Regions from separate parts of the Homo sapiens genome. Here region 1 is linked to region 2. The links are contacts of gene promoters, found by promoter capture Hi-C in blood cells and fetal thymus (Javierre and others, 2016). All regions are on one chromosome and are shown on one strand. The core of a region is centred on a gene start or on the middle of the fragment in contact, and the rest is flanking DNA. Distances in the headings are between cores, read along the strand shown.

What was found. The method cuts DNA at HindIII sites, captures the fragments that hold promoters and counts their contacts. A CHiCAGO score of 5 or more calls a contact.
Region 1: a contact is called between a fragment that was not itself captured here and the fragment with the promoter of TCF23 in region 2, in 2 of 17 cell types (naive B cells and total B cells). The highest score is 6.5, in naive B cells.

The regions. Positions count from the first base shown.
Region 1 is chr2:27,272,077-27,278,861 of GRCh38, reverse strand. It overlaps DNAJC5G (DnaJ heat shock protein family (Hsp40) member C5 gamma), which reads right to left and starts at 3,429. Exons shown (of 7, transcript NM_173650.3): 1 at 3,309-3,429; 2 at 2,475-2,756; 3 at 2,021-2,136; 4 at 847-1,108; 5 at 530-674. The coding sequence starts at 2,133. It also overlaps a transcript of SLC30A3 not described here. The HindIII fragment of the contact is 568 bases long and covers 4,411-4,978 here.
Region 2 is chr2:27,145,554-27,153,034 of GRCh38, reverse strand. It overlaps TCF23 (transcription factor 23), which reads right to left and starts at 4,031. Exons shown (of 3, transcript NM_175769.3): 1 at 3,680-4,031; 2 at 2,670-2,912; 3 at 1-347. The coding sequence starts at 3,901. The coding sequence ends at 168. RefSeq lists an enhancer at 62-121. The HindIII fragment of the contact is 12,568 bases long and covers 1,911-7,481 here.

The sequences.
Region 1 (6,785 bases), core at 3,445-5,944, 130 kb before region 2:
GGCTAATTTTTGTATTTTTAGTAGAGACAGGGTTTCACCATGTTGGTCAGGCTGGTCTCAAACTCCTGACCTCGTGATCCGCCCGCCTCGGCCTCCCAAAGTGCTGGGATTACAGGTTTGAGCCACCATGCCCAGCCTCTTTCTTTTCTTTTCTTTTTTTTTTTTTTTTTTTTTTTTTGAGATGGAGTCTTGCTCTGTCTCCCAGGCTGGAGTGCAGTGGCGCGATCTCAGCTCACTGCAACCTCTGCCTTCCGGGTTCAAGCGATTCTTCTGCCTCCTCAGCCTCCCAAGTAGCTGGGACTACAGGTGGGTGCCACCATGCCCAGCTAATTTTTGTATTTTTAGTAGAGACAGGGTTTTACCATGTTGGCCAGGCTTGTCTCCAACTCCTGACCTCAAGTGATCCACCCGCCTCACCCTCCCAAAGTGCTGGGATTACAGGCATGAGCCATTGTGCCCAACCCCAATCATTTCTTTCATTCCCAATCCAGACATTTCTTACCTCACAGTCCCTGCTTGCAGTTCTCACCTGACCTTGGAGGCTGACTCTGGACATTCTGCTGATATTTTCTCCCACTATCCTGCTCAGGTGGTGGTTTAAGTGCTCCACAGCAAAAACAGCAGCAACAACAGAAACAGCAACAAGTGAGCAGAGTACACAGGATGACAAGTGTCTAAAAGGTAGGCGAGAATGGCCTCAGTCCAGCAGTTTTCTATATGACTGCTCAAGCTTCCCTCCCTCAATCCTCCTGGCACCCAGAAAATGAGACAACAGAAGCATTTGTCATAAGGAAAGGAAGGTCACCCTTCTTTCCTTATTCTTAAAGGACCTGGAGAATTGTGTACCTTGAACCAACAACTATTCAGAATAAAATAGTATCTGACGCCTTCTTCACCAAAGTGATCATACAGATATATTCCCAATGAGCCATGCTGGTCGTAAATTTTCCGCTTCTTAGAGTCGCTCAGTATGGCATGAGCTGCGTTGATCTCTTTGAATATTTCTGCTGCTTGAGCATTCCCTGGATTCTTGTCGGGATGATACCGCAAGGCCAGTTTCCTACCCAGGTGATACTCAAAAGGAGGGTGGGGAAGCAATGCGGAATGGCTGGGGAAGGAGACTTACGATGAATGACATGGATTAGTCTCTAGAGAGTGCAGAAGGAATGCATGAGATGTGGTACAAAGGATGGAGGCAAGCATCCAAGGTCTAAACTCCTTCCCATACTATAATGAAGAGGGTGATGGTGCCATTTGGCCCCAAAGTGAGGGCTTGTTGGAACTTAAAAATGGGTCATAGGGCTGGGAGCACTGGCTCACACCTGTAATCCCAGCGCTTTGGGAGGCCAAGGTGGGCGGATCATGAGGTCAGGAGTTTGAGACCAGCTTGGCCAACATGGTGAAACCCTGTCTCTACCAAAAATACAAAAGATTAGCTGGGCATAGTGGCAGGCACCTGTAATCCCAGCTACTCGGGAGGCTGAGGCAGGAGAATCACTTCAACCCGGAAGGTGGAGGTTGCAGTGAGCCGAGACTGCACCACTGCACTACAGCTTGGGCAACAGAGCGAGACTGTCTCAAAACAAACAAACAAACAAACAAACAAACAAACGGGTCGTAGGCCAGGCACAGTGGTTCACACCTGTAATCCCAGCACTTTGGGAGGCCGAGGCAGGTAGATCACCTGAGGTCAGGAGTTTGAGACCAGCCTGGCCAACATGGCGAAACCCTGTCTCTACTAAAAATACAAAAATTAGCCAGGCGTGGTGGTGCACGCCTGTAGTCCCAGCTTCTCAGGAGGCTGAGGTGAGAGAATTGCTTGAACCTGGGAGGCAGAGGTTGCAGTAAGCCAAGATCGTGCCACTGCACTCTCAATAGTCTCTGTCTCTGCTCTGTGACAGGACGAGACTTCCTCTCAAAAAAAAAAAAAAAAAAAAAGAGTCAGATAGCAAAAGAGATACAGAAAGAAAAAGGTTTAAGGGGGAAATTCCAAGGATCAATAAAGGGCTGAGGTCTGAACCTGTAGGATTTTTTGAAGTCTTCAGGTGAGGCGCCCTTCTTAAGATCCAGCACTGCATAGAGGCTCATCTCACTTTTGGACAGCCGGTGTGCTGCTTCCTTCACAGTAGACATGATCTGAGCCAGAGGAGAAGCAGCATCTGTGAGAACTTCTACAAGTAAGGGTACCGAGAAGTGCACTTCCAGTGACAGGAAACTCACTACCTTCAGGGATTAGGCAGGTAAACGATGACAGAAGGACAAGGATAAGATAAGAGTGAGTGGGATTTGTGGCTAGCAGGAGAATTCAGGTGATCAGAAAGATTCCAATTTTAAGGAGGAAACATCTTCTCCTCACATTTCCCAGCATCCTCCAGCTACACAGACCTCTAGATATCCCACATCCTAGAGGTGTTGTAAGCAGGGAGAGGTCTAAGCCAGGAAAAGAGCCTGATTTTGTCTAGAGCTCCTATTACCTGGAGTAAACACCTCTGGGTCTGTCCAAGCTCACTGCTGGGTTTGAAAGACCAGGGCGGCCCCAGCCTGAACGGACAGGATCAGGAATCAGACAGCTCCACAACTTCTTCTTCTTTTTTTTTTTTTTGACGGAGTTTTTTGCTCTTGTTGCCCAGGCTGAAGTGTAATGGCGCGATCTCGGCTCACTGCAACCTCCACCTCCTGGGTGCAAGCGATTTTCCTGCCTCAGCCTCCCGAGTAGCTGAGATTACAGGTGCACGCCACCACGCCCGGCTAATTTTCTGTGTTTTTAGTAGAGACAGAGTTTCACCATGTTGGTCAGGCTGTTCTTGAACTCCTGACCTCAGGTGATCCACCCACCTCGGCCTCCCAAAGTCCTGAGATTACAGGCGTGAGCCATTGAGCCTCGCCGATCCACAGCTATTAAGAGAGAAACACTTCAGACCAAACCGTGTGAGGCCTAACAGAAGTCAAGTGTCCTAGAGCCTGGCGGGGGCGGGGGCGGGGGCGGGGGCGGGGGTGGGGAGTGCTTGCAGCTAGGCCTGGACTTGCTTCTTCCCTCCAGTCTCCTGCTCTCAAACCACCCCACTTCTGTCCCTCAGAGGTGGGACAGTGGGGAGAGGAGGAAGAGGACTCAGAGGCTGGAGAAGGAAGAGAAAAGGCGTTGCTGTGGGAAAGACCTGGCAAGGAAAAGGCAGCGGAACCCCAGAGAGCAGGGTAGACGCCTGCGGCCCAGGAGAACCGAGCAAGGCAAGGAGCTCAAAGGGAGAGCTCTGAGTGTGCAGGGCACCTCTGGCCCTGTGCCGACTCCTCACCTGGGTCTGGCCCTTTACCTGGGAGTCGTTCTCTTAAGCCAGGTGGGTGCCCTTCATCCTTTTGGGTGTGAAACTTCACACCGGCCGGGTCCAGCAGTTGACTGCGCTTGTGCGCAGCGTCGACGCTGAGGGTCTGGGCAGGTCGTTTTTTGGCGCCCCCGGAAGCACTGGGTGGGGAGGCCACATTGGCCCTGGGACTTATTTCGCGCGCAGGGAAGCGAGAGCGGAGGGCTTAGCAGGCCTGCGGCCCAAGGCAGCGTAGGAGCGTTGCTGCCAGGCCTTGGGGCAGGGATTCCCACCGAGCCCCTCTTCCCCAGCAGGAGGGCACCACCCATCTTGATGGCCCAACTCACTCCAGGAAACACAATGGGTTTGCTGACCGTGGCGGATGAGAGGTATGGCTGCTGCATGCCCTTCTTAAGAGGTGTGTTACCTTCCCAGTTGTCTTCAGGACTTAGGGCTCTCCGCTTGGTCCCTCCTTCTCTTCCACCCGGAAACACCTCCACAACCTGGAAGACCCAACTCATATGCCCCTGTTCCTGACACTCCATCATTCACTCTCCCAGTTGTTCCCACTTCGTCTGTCAAAGCATTTCTCCTAGTATATCGTAATGATGAGTTTGCACGTCTCATTAAAATGATGTATTGAGCCTTTTCCAAAAGTCACTACCGTGCTTCAAAAACGTCACTTAAATATGATGCCATCATGAGCATGTCCCATAATGTAACCCAACTTGGCTGTTTCAGTTGTTTCTATTTGATAATATAATAACCTTATAAGGAAAATTCAACAGAAATCCTTGAACAAATGTCTAATTTTTTTTCCTAAGGATACATTCTTAGAAGTGGAATTATTGGGTCGAAATGATTTTTTTTTTCTTTTTTCTTTTCTTTTTTTTTTACGCTCTTGATCTCTATTGCTAACTTTCTTCTGGAAAGGTAGCAGAAGGAGGATTTGTATCCCCACCTGCTGGCATGGGAGCATGCCTCTACCTGGCTTCCCTTCCTGTGAGTTTCTACAGGAGGTAGTGTTTGCATCACTTATAATTTACTACTTTGTAGTGCTGGTTTTCTTTGCAAGAGCACTCAATGGCTCCTGTAACATGTAGTAGAAAAAGCTTTGTTACTTGGAAAATGCTTATCTGTTAACCTTTTTGTAGCTTTTATCACTCTCTTCCTTTTATTACAGTTATTTGTGCACATTTTCCTCACCTTGTAGGTTTTTTTTGTTTGTTTTGTTGTGTTTTGAGGTGGAGTCTCACTCTGTCACACAGGCTGGAGTGCAGTGGCACAATGTCTGCTCACTGGAACCTCTGCCTTCCGGGTTCAAGTGATTCTCCTGCTTCAGCCTTCCAAGTAGCTGGGATTACAGGTGCCTGCCACCACGCCTGGCTAATTTTTTTTGTATTTTTAGTAGAGACGGGGTTTCACCATGTTGGCCAGGCTGGTTTCGAACTCCTGACCTCAGTGATCTACCCGCCTCAGCCTCCAAAAGTGCTGGGATTACAGGCGTGAGCCATTGCGCCAGCCCCCTTGAAGGCGTGAGCCATTGTGCCAGCCTCCTTGAAGCCATTGCGCCAACCCCCATTGCGCCAGCTCCTTCGAAGGTCACTCACCAAAAAAGAAGCTGAAGCTGATAATGTTTTTTGGTGGTTTGTCTCATGCCAAATTTCTTTAACCCCCAAGCTTTCATGACTCATGGGAGGACAGAACTAGCAGAACAAACCAGCTCATTTCTTCCCCAGCACTGGGTAGAGAGAGCAGAAGGCATTAGAGGTGCACTTGTAAATCAGTATTCCACCTCAAGAACCATCTAAGCAAACGAACTAAGGAGTCCATCTGTAGCAGACGTGATGACTGCTGAATTAATGAATTTATTTCTGTAGGCCTGTGGTCAGTGCAGGGAGAGGGGATGAAGACCTTTGCATTACCCACCTGGTCCATAGTCTCTGGGTCAGATGAGTTTAGAGGTCACTCACTTAAAAAGAAGCTGAAGCTGATAATTTTTTTATGGTGGTTTGTCTCATGCCAGATTTCTTTAACCCCCAAGCTTTCATGACTATCATGGGAGGACAGAACTAGCAGAACAAACCAGCTCATTTCTTCCCCAGCACTGGGTAGAGAGAGCAGAAGGCATTAGAGGTTCACTTATAACGAATTCCTTGCCTCAGTCTGTAAGACCCAGCGTGGTCCTGCCCCTCCCTCTCCAATCTTTTCTGGAACCACTGTCCTACTTGCTCTGGGCTCTGCTCCACCGCTTTCCTCTTTCCTGTTAGTTATTTGAAAACATCGTGTTCCCTCCCATTTCAAGAGTCTTTGACCATGTTGTTCCCTCTGCCTGGAGGGCTTGACCTCTCATCCTTCAGGGATCTCAGCTTCAGGCCTCCTCAGAGAGGCCTTCTAAACTGGGTTCTACTCCTCTCTCCTCACCTCATAACAGCCTGCAAATACACACACACACACACACACACACACACACTGTGTATATGTATCTATATCTATCCATATATATATATATATTTTTTTTTTTTTTTGAGACAAGGTCTTAGTCTGGAGTGCAGTGACACAATCACAGCTCAGCAGCCACAACTTCCTGGGCTCAAGCCATCCTCCCACCTCAGCCTCCCAAGTAGCTGGGACTAAAGGCATGCACCAGCATGCCCAGCTAATTTTCATATTTTTGGTAGAGGCAGGGTTTCATCATGTTGCCCAGGCTGGTCTTGAACTCCTGAGCTCAAGTGATCTGCCCGCCTCAGCCTCCAAAAGTGCAGGGATTACAGGCGTGAGCCACCACGCCCAGCTGGTGAACATATGTTTATTTGCATATTGATTTAAAAGCTGCTGTTGGCCAGGCGCAGTGGCTCATGCCTGTAATCTCAGCACTTTGGGAGGCCGAGGCGGGTCGATCACGAGGTCAGGAGTTCAAGACCAGTCTGGCCAACATAGTAAAACCCTGTCTCTACTAAAAATAAAAAAATTAGCTGGGTGTGGCGGAGGTTGCAGTGAGCCGAGATCGTGCCATTACACTCCAGCCTAGGCAATAGAGTGAGACTCCGTCTCAAAAAAAAAAAAAAAAATAGCTGCCTTCCCCAGGTGACAGCTCCACGAGGGCAAGGACCTTGTTTGTTTGTTGACCATTGTATCCCCAGCACCTAGAGTCATGCCTGGCTCACGTGAGTGAATGAATGATTTCTTGAATGAGCTATAGCTGAGGGCCGTCTGCTGATCCAATGTAACCTGGAGGTTGGGCTCAGAATTCCCTGGGACAGAAGCACTTAGCTAGGGAATTGGACAAGACTACAGGGCCCATCTTCCCTCATATGGTCCTAGACAAGAAGAAACCATGATACAGAAAGGTGAGAGGGGAGATAATAACGTGATCCTGAACTCCCCGTTTCTTATTTGCCTTAGTATTCCCTCCAGTTCCTAACACACTTCCTGTGTTCAGTAAATGTTGGTTGGTTGAATGAACAAGCAAAAGTGTGAGGCTTTTCC
Region 2 (7,481 bases), core at 2,782-5,281:
TCTAGGTACTGTCCATCACAGAAGTGCTACTGCTTCTCTTGGTCTGCATGCTGGAACTTGGGAGCTGAGTCTGAGTCAAGTCTGATGGCTGAGAATCTGGGGGCTGGTAGAAAATCCAGGCCCATAAGCATGAGTCACAGTCTAGGAGAAAAGGGCGAGTGTGATAATTATTTGTCACCAAGAGCTGGTGAGAGTGGTGTGGTGGAAAGGAGAGCATCTGCCTCTCCAGGGACTTGGGACCCCACCTCTGCATCTCTTGTTCTTTGGCTGGGGGTGCTGGCTGTGGTGGAGTCAAGATCGGAGTACCCCAGGCCTCCAGCATAGAGACGAGATCGCATCGGCCACTTCTGCAAGACACAGATTGGGAAGTGAGAAATGCTGCTATTGCAGCCCTTCGTGGTCCAGGATCCTTGACACCCAAAACCCAGCCTTCTCCAGCATCCCTCCCTGACACCTTCCCCAGCCATCACTGCTCTGATCAGGGTCATCATCATGTACAGCCCCACACATTCTCCTGATCACCCAGAGCCTGGATGAGAGACACAGGAGGAGCCATCTGAGGAGGGAGAGGGCCCCAAGAAGAGCAGCGCTCTGTTGGGAGGGAGGTGGACAGAAGATCAGCTGGCCTGGGCAGAGCTGGCAACAGCCAGAGGCTGAGCAATGGGCAGAGCAGCAGAGCCAGGAAAAACTCCAAGCTGGGTCCTCCAAGGTTTGCCCATCTTTCCAGCAGGAGCATGAGCAGTCCCAGAATACACCAGGTTGATTGCCCTGAGGTCGCCCTCCTGTTCACAACCTCTCCACCTGGGAGCTGAGGGAGCTGCTTCCTGGCCAACTGCCCCACCCTGTGGATGTGCTGGAGTGCTGGACCTAACCGGGCCCTCATTGGTTCATTCTTCAGCATAGCTGTTGATCACCTACTACAAGCAAGGGCCTTGCCTTGGTCACTATTTTACAGCGAAGGAAACTACTATATCATCCCAGGACCCTGCACCACCACTGACATTTCAGAGTTCCCCACTTAGTCTCAAATTTATACATTTTAGCTACATTTGCATTGAAGAAAAAAACCAAGTTTTAAGACATTTCAGAACTATGACATTTAGGGGAAAGAGGTGGTGAAAAGTATCATAAAAATAAAGTTGAGAGGTGAGAGGATCACTTGAGCTTAGAGTTTGAGACAAGCCTGTGGAACAAAGTGAGACCCCGTCTCTACAAAAAAAAAAAGAAAAAAAAAAGCCAGGTGTGGTGGCATAAGGCTGTAGTCCCAGCTACTGGGGAAGCTGAGGTGGGAGGATTCCTTGAGCCCAGGAGTTTGAGGGTACAGTAAGCTATGATTGCGCTACTGCACTCCAGCATGGGCGACAGTGAGACCCTGTCTCAACAATAAGTAAATAAATAAATAGTTGGGTGTGGTGGCTCACACCTGTAATCCCAGCACTTTGGGAGGCCGTAGTGGGTGGATCATCTGAGGTCGGGAGTTTGAGACCAACCTGGCCAAAGTGGTGAAACCCTATCTCTACTAAAAATAGAAAAATTAGCCGGGCATGGTGGTGCACGCCTATAATCCCACCTACTCGGGAGGCTGAGGGAGGAGAATCACTTGAACCGGGAGGTGGAGGTTGCAGTGAGCCAAGATTGCGCCACTGCACTCCAGCCTGGGCGACAGAGTGAAACTCTGTCTCAAAAAAATAATAGTACATATATAAATAAATAATAAAATAAAAAAGTTGATACCACTGCAATGTTATCCTCAGAGGGCAAAGATGACCCTTCCTTTTTAACACAGTGCACTCTTCAACCAGCTCCTTATGGCGCTGTCCCTGGAGACTGTTTAGTGGCTATGAGCTTAGGGTCTGAAGTCAGACACCCCTGAGTTCAAACCGCTTTCAGCCTCATAACCTCCCTAAGCTTCAGTTTCCTCATCTGTAAAGTAATCCTCATTTGGTTTTTGCATGGATTAAAAGACAAAAATACACTAACGTACTTAACCCAGCTCCTGGCCTATCTTTAGCACTCAACTGTTAGCTGTTATTGCAAAGATGATTAATGTTCATTAGACTTTCCATTTTGTACTCTGGAAGAGAAGTAAGGCTCATGTTAGCTTCTATTTTACGTGTAATAAAACTGAGGTTGAGAAAAGCTAGATTGCAGTCTGGCAAGTGGTGCGCGCCTTCCCTGTACTGCTGCCTGCTAACTCCCCCAGCTTGGTTGCTTCTAGAATGACGGTCCCTCAGACCGTTGTTCTCCTGGAGGACAGACCTCTCTTGCAACAGAAGCCTAGAAAGCACCAAGGCAGGCACAATGGGCTGAAGCTGCATGGGGATCTAGGACTCTCCTTGGTATAATTTCCTTTCCCAGGCCCCAGACTTGGAACCTGCTACATTTTTCCCTGTGACTCTAAGAACCCCAGAGTCTTTCCCTCCTCTTCAAGGAGGTGCATTCCCATGAAGCCATTTCCAGCCACACTCCCATGAGAAACCCAGGGTCAGCGCAGCCCCAAGGGTCAGCCTTGGCTCCTCTCCCTCTGAGACAGCAGGAGAAATTGGCTCCGACGTCAGTTCTGCACAGGGCAGGGGGCCCAAGTCCAATGTCCCCCCTCATTCCAATCCCTTTCTCCAAGGCCCTGGGCATTAAGATCCGCCTCTCAAGTCCCAGGGCTTGTGACTTACCTTGAGAGGGTGCAAGTAGCGGAGTCCACGCAGGAAGGGCGGCCAGGCAGGGCCAGGCAACTCGTGGCCGAGTGTGCGGGTGAGGTGGGCTATGTAGCTGGCGGCGAGCACCAGCACGTCCAACTTGGAGAGCTTGGTGTCGGGCGGCACGGCAGGCAGAGCAGCCTGCAAGGCCAAGAAGGCCTGGCGCAGCGTCCTGACCCGGCTCCGCTCCCGCGCGGCATTCTCAGGACTGGCCTCGCTCTGCACAGAGGGCCCCAGTGAGTGTGTGTGACCTGGACTCCCAACTGCCCTGACTTCTGAGAGCGTTTGAGCACAAGGTCTCCCACCAGAGTAGAAGGGTGTCTAGCAGTAGGCACCAGAGGGCCTCTGCCCACCTACGTCATCTGCAGCCCTGCCGCGTTTCACAGCTGAGGAAGTTGGGGGAAGGCCTGGCCAGGGGTCAGATGGCTGCAGGATGGCAGAGCTTGGCTCAGAACCCAGAGTCCTGTGTTCTCTCTACTACTCCACTCATGCCTCCTCAGAGCCTTTGTCCTGTCCCATGCCCAATCTGAATCCTGCTTATCAGGGTGTGCTGGGGCCAGGGGGAGTTCAGAGCTACACCCTGTTTGGGAGGGCGGACCCTTGACCTAGCCAGGTCCTGAGACGACGAGGCTGCTGTGGGAAAGAGGAAAGACACAGAACCAGGGGTCAAAGCACACAGGCTGAAGTCCCAGTCCTACCACTGGCTGCTGCTCAGTGACCTTGGGAAATTCACATCCCTCTTCCCGGCCTCAGTTTCCTCAAGAGAAGTGAGTTAGTGCAGCTCTCTGAGCTGCACTCTGGTTAAGACCAGCTCTGATCTATCCCAACTACCCAAAGCATGATGCCTTGGAGTCTAAGGGGCCAGTGTCCCCTCTCTTGGGCAGGAATGGTAATACTGAGTGAGGCTGTACCATCAGAGGTGACATCTCCCCACCTTCCAACCCCTTCCTCCCCTGGACCCCTCTGCAGGTGCAGGATTTCCTTACCCTGCCAAGAGCCAGGCCCCCAGCCCTGGTCCCTCGAGGGCCAGGGGTAGCTCTGCTCCATCTCTGGTTGCTCCAGCTTCTTTCTTCCCACGGGTCCTGCCTTGTCCTGCTGAGGCGGCTCCTCTTCCTGTCAGCGCCTGGCAGCAACCGTGCTTTGGCCTGAGTCTGGCTATGCCCCACCCCTGGCATGGCTGGTGGCCCTCTGGCCTTCCTCTGTGACATGCCACCCCACTGGGGCTGCAGCCCACAGAGCAGAAACACAGTGCCTGAGGAGGCCTTGGACTCAAGCTAGCTGGCTGTGGCTGGTCATCCAGCCAGCAATATCTACATCCGAGGAAGCTGGCGCCAACTCAGTCCTGTTTGCTCCCTGCTCTGGGAAAACCGCCCACCAGGCACAGCCCCCGCGAAAAGCCTCCGCCTGCCTCCTAACCCAGCTGAGAGGTGGGGGTGCTGGATGCTGGGAGTGGCCAAGCCTTGGGAGGAGGCCCATGCTGAAGAAGGCAGGAGGATAGTGGGGAAGGGAGCTCCTTTCCGGCCATGCCTAACCTCAACAGTGGTCCTATGGTGGACCTGTGACTTCCGCTTTGGAGCTCACGTCCATGGAGAGGACTTGAACCTCCTTCGTCTGTGCCAGAAGGCTGCCTGCATACATCCCTGAAAGGCCTTTCCTCCCCTTGCCAATGAACGTGACCTTCCAGCCACAGAGCGCGATTTGCCATGCCCCAAATATGCCTCCGATTTCCACTCTGTGTTTAAATTTACCTTTCCACGCCCCAGAATACCTTCCTCCAGCTCTGCCAGGAGGTACTGCCCATCCTTCAGGTCTCCGCCTTTCATTCGTGAAGACTTCAAATCCCGCAGGCCCAGAGCCCATGGGTCCCTGTTTGATTGGTACAATCACAGCCTGGCTACTTTCCCAGAAGTTCGATATTCATAGATTACTGTGTGCCAGGCACTGTGCTAAGCATCTTATTTATTTCTCAGAGCAACCTTTTAAGAAAAAAAGAGACTCAGTTTAGATGTGTGGGAACTGGTATACTGGGAGGTGAAATAACTTGCCCAATGTCAAACATCCGTTAAGTGGTGGGGTGGGATGAAAATCCAAGCCGTCAGTTGGACTTTGAAGGCTACCCCTCACCTGATGCTAGCCTGCCTCCCATGGGTTACTCACGCGTCTGTCCCCATGCTAGACATGAGGTCTCTGAAGGCAAGGACCATGGTGTTCCTGAGTTGCATCACATCCTCCAAGAGCTAGTTAGGAGAAGGCGGGCTGAAGGAATCGCGAATCTGCCACAGCAGCCCCTGCTGTCTTCCAGGGACCTCTGCCTGTAGCAGAATCCAGCCTGATGTCCCTTGTCCCCCATTCTCGAACCTCAGGGGAGATCAAATAAGTAAGGAGAAAGTAAAAAGGTGGATGTACAGTGAGAAAGATATGCAGCCCACCACAGAGAAAGGGAAAAAGAGGCCGGGCGCGGTGGCTCACGCCTGTAATCCCAGCACTTTGGGAGGCAGAGGCAGGTAGATCATGAGGTCAAGAGACGGAGACCATCCTGGCCAACTTGGTGAAACCCCGTCTCTACTAAAAATACAAAAATTTAGCTGGGTGTGGTGCCACGTGCCTGTAGTCCCAGCTACGCGGGAGGCTGAGGCAGGAGAATTGCTTGAACCCGGGAGGCAGAGGTTGCAGTGAGCCGAGATTGCCTGGGCTCCAGCCTGGGCGACAGAGCGAGACTCCATCTCAAAAAAAAAAAAAAAAAAAAAAAAAAAAGGAAAGGAAAGGAAGGAAGGAAGGGCCGGGTGCAGTGGCTCACACCTGTAATCCCAGCACTTTGGGAGGCTGAGATGGGCAGATCACGAGGTCAGGAGACTGAGACCATCCTGGCTAAGATGGGTGAAACCCCATCTCTACTAAAAATACAAAAAAATTAGCCGGGCGTGGTGGTGGGTGCCTGTGGTCCCAGCTACTCAGGGGGCTGAGGCAGGACAATGGCGTGAACCTGGGAGGTGGAGCTTGTAGTGAGCCAAGATCGTGCCACTGCACTCCAGCCTGGGCGACAGAGCAAGACACGGTCTTGAAAAAAGAAGGAAGGAAGGAAGGAAGGAAGGAAGCAAAGAAAGAAAGAAAGAAAGGTAGGTAGGTTAGTAGAAACAACCTGCATGTCCATCAGTAGGGAAGTCGTTAAATAAATTTTGGCATCTCCATACTATGAAATAATGTACAGTAATAAAAATAATGACAGCCCTTTGTTAAATGACATGAAAAACTCTTCAAAACACACAGTTGTGAAAAAAGCTAGTTGTAGATCAATATATATAGTAAGACCCCAGCCACGTAAAAAAATACACCAAAAAATAAAAAATAGAAATGTAAAGTTTTATGTGCTTATGTGAACATATAGAAAGGAGATGGAAAAGATGTGCATCAGGCCGGGCGCGGTGGCTCACGCCTGTAATCCCAGCTCTTTGGGAGGCCGAGGTGGGCGGATCACCTGAGGTCAGGAGTTCGAAACTAGCCTGGCCAACATGGCGAAACCCTGTCTCAACTAAAAATACAAAAATTAGCCAGGTGTGGTGGCAGGTGCCTATAATCCCAGTTACATGGGAGGCTGAGGCAGAAGAATTGCTTGAACCCGGGGGCGGAGGTTGCAATGAGCTGAGATCACGCCACTTCACTCCAGACTGGGCAGAAGAGCGAAACTCCATCTTAAAAAACAAACAACAACAAAAAAAACCCCAAAAATTATCCAGGTATGGTGATGCATGCCTATAGTCCCAGATACTCGGGAGGTTGAGGCAGGAGTCGCTTGAACCCAGGAGGTAGAGGTTGCAGTAGGCCGAGATCGTGCCACTGCACTCCTGCCTGGGCGACAAAGTGAGACTGTCTCAAAAAAAAATAAAAAATAAAAACAGTGCAGTTACCCCCTTGCTCCCTCTTGGATCGCTCACTCTGGGGGAAGCCAGCTGCTATCTTGAGGATATCCAAGCAGCCCTGTGGAGAGGCCCATGTTGTGAGGAACTGAGGCCTCTCACTGACAGCCACCACGACTTGCCAACCGTGGGAGTGAGCCACCTCAGAAATGGATCCTCCAGTTCCAGTTGGACCTCCAGATGACTGCAGCCCTGGCTGTCGGTTTGAGTGCAACCCATGAGAGACCCTGAGCCAAGATCACCCAGCTAAATTGCTCTTGCCCGTAGAATTCCTGACTTATAGAAGCCATAGAAGATAATAAATGTTTATTGCTGCTTAAGTTTGGGGGTAATTTGGAAGCAGCTATAGATAACTAATGTAGTATGTGTTACTGAAGCCTGTGCATTGTTGTATGAATAAATTTTAAATTTACACAAATGATAATTGTATTAGCCAGGTGCAGTGGTGCATGCCTGTAATCCTAGCTTCTCAGGAGGCTGTTGGGGCAGAGGGGAAGATCACTTGAGCCCAGGAGTTCCAGGTTACAGTGAGCTATGATTGCGCCACTGCACTCCACCCTGGGCAACAGAGATAGAATCTGACTCAAGCAATCCTCAAAATTACAAGTTTCAAGCAATTAGGCAGAAAATCAATAAGGATATAGACGACTTGGGAAACACTATAAACCTACTAAACCTAACAGACATCAAATAACACTCAACAACATAATGCTACAGATTCTTCTAAATTGCACATGGAAGATTCTCCAGAATGGATCATATGTTAGAGTCTCCAGAATGGATCATAAAACAAGCCTCAACATGCGCAGTGGCTCACGCCTGTAATCCCAGCACTTTGGGAGGCCGAGGCATGCGGATCACCTGAGGTTGGGAG